2 separate regions of the Homo sapiens genome follow, and region 2 is linked to region 1. The links are contacts of gene promoters, found by promoter capture Hi-C in human tissues and cell types (Jung and others, 2019). All regions are on one chromosome and are shown on one strand. The core of a region is centred on a gene start or on the middle of the fragment in contact, and the rest is flanking DNA. Distances in the headings are between cores, read along the strand shown. Region 1 holds the start of TNFSF14 (TNF superfamily member 14). Region 2 holds the start of CD70 (CD70 molecule).

Evidence for each region. The method cuts DNA at HindIII sites, captures the fragments that hold promoters and counts their contacts. A contact is called where the count stands out against the background at its distance.
Region 2: a contact is called between the fragment with the promoter of CD70 here and the fragment with the promoter of TNFSF14 in region 1, in 3 of the 25 tissues and cell types used here (lymphoblastoid cells, pancreas and stomach).

The regions. Positions count from the first base shown.
Region 1 is chr19:6,668,690-6,671,492 of GRCh38, reverse strand. It overlaps TNFSF14 (TNF superfamily member 14), which reads left to right and starts at 1,333. Exons shown (of 4, transcript NM_001376887.1): 1 at 1,333-1,642. The coding sequence starts at 1,424. RefSeq lists a silencer at 204-303 and enhancers at 874-1,103, 1,484-1,573, 2,474-2,663, 2,724-2,803. The HindIII fragment of the contact is 26,746 bases long and covers 1-2,803 here.
Region 2 is chr19:6,589,589-6,592,409 of GRCh38, reverse strand. CD70 (CD70 molecule) reads left to right here and starts at 1,260. Exons shown (of 3, transcript NM_001252.5): 1 at 1,260-1,569; 2 at 2,274-2,307. The coding sequence starts at 1,408. RefSeq lists enhancers at 1-20, 1,091-1,490, 1,991-2,360. The HindIII fragment of the contact is 16,779 bases long and covers 1-1,870 here.

The sequences.
Region 1 (2,803 bases), core at 84-2,583:
TGGTGGGCGCCTGTAGTCCCAGCTACTCAGGAGGCTGAGGCAGGAGAATGGCGTGAACCTGGGAGGCGGAGCTTGCAGTGAGCCGAGATCGCACCACTGCACTCCAGCCTGGGCGACAGAGCGAGACTCCGTCTCGAAAAAAAAAAAAATCCACGCTTGAATGCATGCACACTCATACATGGACCTCCCCACACACATGAACACACCCGTGCAAGTGCGCACACACACATACACGCACCAATGCACAGGCACACACACATGCACACACCTGCACACAGCACATATATGCACACCCACTTGCACATGTGATGCATGTTCACACATACACACACGTGCACATGCATGCATGTACATGGACCACATGCACATGCACACAGATGACCATACACATATGCATGCACCTGCCCACATATGCACGCACATTTACATGCCAGCACATGTATGATACACAGGCATGCGCCTGCACATGTGTACATGATACACACTTGCATGCACACAACTGAATACACACATTCACATGCACACACTGCACACATATATGCATGCAGACAAGCACACACACAGAGCACACATCCACTCCTTTATTCCACTCTTGTGTTTTTCACTGCACTTGTCACATCAAAACACAACAGAAGGCCGGGCATGGTGCGGCTCACGTTTGTAATCCCAGCACTTTGGGAGGCTGAGGTGGGTGGATCGCTTGAGGTCAGGAGTTCGAGACCAGCCTGACCGACATGGTGAAAACCCATCTCTACTAAAAATACAAAAAGCAGCCAGGCGTGGTGGCACGCGCCTGTAATCCCCGCTACTTGGGAGGCTGAGGCAGGAGAATTGCTTGAACCCAGGAGGTGGAGGTTGTAGTAAGCTGAGATCGCGCCACTGCACTCCAGCCTGGGCAACAGAGCGAGACTCCATCTCAAAAACAAAACAAATAAACGAACAAAAAAACCCACAACGTATTATTTTCTTGTTTACGAGGTTTCTTGTCTCTCTGGCTCCACCAGAAGAGGAGCAGGGACCCTTCTTGCTGTTGTTCATTGCTGCATCCCCCACACCGAGAGCAGAGCCTGGCATGGGCAGAAAGTCCTCAGTCGATATTTGGTGGCCCCAAGCGAATGAAGCATCCAAGAAGGGAAAGCTGGGGGCTCCCCACTGCACTTGCCACCTGAGTCACATTTTCAGAAGCCTCTGGAAAGTGTGAGAGTCTGTATGAGTGAGAGTGAGACAGGGCCAAGACCGGGGGCGGCGGGTACCGGAAGAAGAGGAGGGTGAGTGGGGGAAGGGGTGGGGCTGAACCCCAGCTCTAAAGGCGGCCCACGGGTGCCTGTCCGCAGCGTGCACAGCCCAGGAGTGTTGAGCAATTTCGGTTTCCTCTGAGGTTGAAGGACCCAGGCGTGTCAGCCCTGCTCCAGACACCTTGGGCATGGAGGAGAGTGTCGTACGGCCCTCAGTGTTTGTGGTGGATGGACAGACCGACATCCCATTCACGAGGCTGGGACGAAGCCACCGGAGACAGTCGTGCAGTGTGGCCCGGGTGGGTCTGGGTCTCTTGCTGTTGCTGATGGGGGCCGGGCTGGCCGTCCAAGGCTGGTTCCTCCTGCAGCTGCACTGGCGTCTAGGAGAGATGGTCACCCGCCTGCCTGTGAGTGGGACCGGGGGGCTGAGAGCAGGTGGAGGTGAGGGGGGCTCCCCTGTGTCATTGTGGGTCACTGTGTGTCTGTGTGTGTGTGTGTGTGTGTGTGTGTGTGTGTGTGTAGGACAGGGCACAGGCTGAGAGCAGCTGGCTTGACTGGTTGCTGCTCCCAGCCTTGGGCAAGTGAATTCACCTCTCTGAACCTCAGTGTCTTCATCTACAAAATAAGGGCAGTCTCTTCATAGGGGACGAAGTATGCTATGGCATGTGTAGTACCAGACGATGCCAGCTCCACCCGTCGGAACTGACACCCCAACACTGCCATGCACACCCCTGTGCACACACGCATGCATTTTCTCTGTACTTTTTTATTTTTGAGACGGAGTTTCACTCTCGTTGCCCAGGCTGGAGTGCAATGGCATGATCTCTGCTCACCGCAACCTCTGCCTCCCGGGTTCAAGTGATTCTCCTGCCTCAGCCTCCCGAGTAGCTGGGATTACAGGCATGCGCCACCACGCCTGGCCAATTTTGTATTTTTAGTAGAGATGGGGCTTCTCTATGTTTGTCAGGCTGGTCTCAAACTCCCGACCTCAGGAGATCCACCCGCCTCAGCCTCCCAAAGTGCTGGGATTACAGGTGTGAGCCACTGCGCCTGGCCTTCTCTGGTACTCTTATTACTGTTACTGCGATTGTCATTAATTCTCTGACCATTTCCATCTGTGGAAATTTCTCGGTCTGCTTCCAGCTGGCTGTGGATGTGTCCGCCTGTCTGTGTGCCTCACCTGGGGGTCTATGTGTGCCCAACACCATACCCCTGTGGGCTTGGCCCCTTTTGTGTCCTGGGTCTGGATCCGGTGGCCACACATTCGTGTCCATATACCCATGTGGACGTATGTGCGTGTACCCACATGTCCACACACCCGCCTAGCTGCAGCCGGTGTATTCACGTTGTCTGTCTTTGTCTCTGGGTCTCTGTGTCTGTAGACGCACATGGATCCATAAACCACAAACCACATGTCCACGCATCTGAGCCCACATGTGTCTTCTCAGCGTCATGATGATGTTGAGGTCTGTGCCCTGTGGCAGGTGCTATATCCCAAGGGTGGTGTCCATGTGTCCAGCCATCTCGCTGTCTGCATTTTTTTTTTTTTGAGACAAGGTTTCTCTCCC
Region 2 (2,821 bases), core at 11-2,510, 79 kb after region 1:
TAGTAACACCCTATCCTCTACCCCCCCCAAAAAAAAAATTAGCCGGGCATGGTAGCGTGTGCTGGTAGACCCAACTATGCAAAAGGCTGAGATGGGAGGGTCACTGAAGCCCAGGAGTTTGAGGCTGCTGTGAGCTGTGTGGCGCCACTGCATCCAGCCTGGGCAACAGAGCAACACTCTGTCTCTAAAAATATTAATTTAGGCCGGGCGCGGCGGCTCACGCCTGTAATCCCAGCACTTTGGGAGGCCAAGGCGGGCAGATCACGAGGTCAGGAGATGGAGACCATCCTCGCTAACATGGTGAAAACCCATCTCTACTAAAAATACAAAAAGTTAGCCGGGCGTGGTGGCGGGCGCCTGTAGTCCCAGCTACTTGAGAGGCTGAGGCAGGAGAATGGCGTGAACCCGGGAGGCGGAGCTTGCAGTGAGCCGAGATGGCGCCACTGCACTCCAGCCTGGGCGACAGAGCGAGACTCTGTCTCAAAAAAAAAAAAAATAAATAATAAAATAAAATAAAAATAAAAAATAAAAATATTAACTTAATTTAACTTTAAACAAAAAAGCAGGTGGTCTCCAAGAATGCAGGAGATAACTGACCGGGTGCAGTGTCTCATGCCTTTAATCCCAGCACTTTGGAAGGCCAAGGCGGGTGGATCACCCAAGGTCAGGAGTTCAAGTCCAGCCTGGCCAACATGGTGAAACCCCATCTCTACTAAAAATACAAAAAATTAGCCAGGCATGGTGGCGCGCGCATGTTACTCCCAGCTACTCGCGAGGCTCAGACAGGAGAATCGCTTGAACCCAGGAGATCGAGGTTGCGGCGAGCTGAGATGGCGCCACTGCACTCCAGCCTGGGTGACAGAGGGAGACCTCCGTCTCAAAAACAAAACAAATCAAAAAAATGCAGGAGAGGGGTACACGAATATTTGGGGAGCACCCCCAATTCTTGGATGTCTGCTGTATCCCCAGTGCACAGCACAATCTAATCCCTAATAAATGTGCAGTGGAGGTTTGTTGAATAAATGAATGGGCCCCAGAAGAATGAGGTGGAGAGGGGAATAGGAAGATTGAATGTCTCCTGCCTGAAGGTCGGGCGGGGAGGGGTTGGGGGCAGGCAACTCTGAGGCTCACCCGGGGCCACTGCCTGCATCCTGGCAACTGCCTCCACCCACTTTAGGATCTTCAGACTGGCAGCGGTTGGAGGGAATTTCCCCTCGCCAATTGCTCAAGTCCCTCCCCTCGACCGGCCGGACATCCCCAGAGAGGGGCAGGCTGGTCCCCTGACAGGTTGAAGCAAGTAGACGCCCAGGAGCCCCGGGAGGGGGCTGCAGTTTCCTTCCTTCCTTCTCGGCAGCGCTCCGCGCCCCCATCGCCCCTCCTGCGCTAGCGGAGGTGATCGCCGCGGCGATGCCGGAGGAGGGTTCGGGCTGCTCGGTGCGGCGCAGGCCCTATGGGTGCGTCCTGCGGGCTGCTTTGGTCCCATTGGTCGCGGGCTTGGTGATCTGCCTCGTGGTGTGCATCCAGCGCTTCGCACAGGCTCAGCAGCAGCTGCCGCTCGAGTCACTTGGGGTGAGTTGAGATGGAAAAGTTGGGAAGAAAACATAGAGAGGCGCGTGACCGAAAAGACAGAATGAGATGGGTACAAAGAGGCCAGAGAGGAAGATCTGGTAGGGCAGAGACAGAGACCAGAACAGGGAGGCGAGGCGGGGACCAGGCTGCCCGGTGTAGGGGCTACGAGACAGGCAGCCCTGCCAGGAGGTACAGGGAGATCCCGGGATGGGAAAGGTAGGCACACATGGAAATGGAAGATGACTCGGCTCTGGTGTTCCCCCGGCAGGCTGACTCAGAGGCTGCTGGGGGCTTCACAAGGCTGGGCGTGGGGGCTTCCTGGGGCCTCCTAGGACGGGATGGCCCCAGCCACTCGCTCCGGGTGGGGGAGGGGTCCCTTTGGGGACCGCGCCGGGCGCCTTTGCAGCGTAGAGAGTCCGCTGCGCGCGGTGCTCTCGCGCCCAGTGACATCCAGGAAAACGATTCGGGAAACGAAGAAGTTCTTTTGAAGGTCTCGACTTCACGTTCCCCGCTGGTTCAGACCTGCTTCCTCTTTAAGAAGTCTTAAGAGTAAAAAAAAATAAAATGAAATAAAATCACCAGTGCGCGCCGTGGGATGAGAGGTGGAAAGGAGGATGGACAGAGAAAAGAGAGCTCCTGGCACAGGGGACACATAGAACCTCTCTGCTTACGTCCGTGCCCTGTTTTCTGGTCTTTTCTTCCAGTGGGACGTAGCTGAGCTGCAGCTGAATCACACAGGTAACACGGGGGACGTGGAGGGACGGGGAGAAGAAGAGGCACAGAGAGAGAAGGAAGGAGAGGTAGAAAGACAAGTGGGGAGAGACAGAGAGAAAGAGACACAGACAGAGACGGAGGGAGAGAGGGAGGGAGAGATAGGGAGGGAAACGGAGAGGGGGAGACAGAGAGAAGACAGAGAGGGAGGGAGAGGCCCAGAGAAAGGGAGGGAGAGACAGAAAAAAGAACAGAGAGAGGGACAGAGGGGACAGACGGGACAGGAGAAGAAGGGGAAAGAAAGAAACAGGGAGAGACGCAGGGAGAGTGGAAGAGGGAGGGAGGGAGACAGGCGGGGGAGACAGAACGAGAGAGAGGGAGAGAGACGGAGAAAGAGAAAAAAGACAGATAGAGGAAGAGAGAATAAAAACGAGAGAGGCGACCTGGCGTGGTTGCTGGAGCCTGTAATCCCAGCGCTTTCGGAGGGCGCGGCGGGTGGATCACTTGAGCCCAGGAGTTTGAGACCAGCCTGGCCAACATG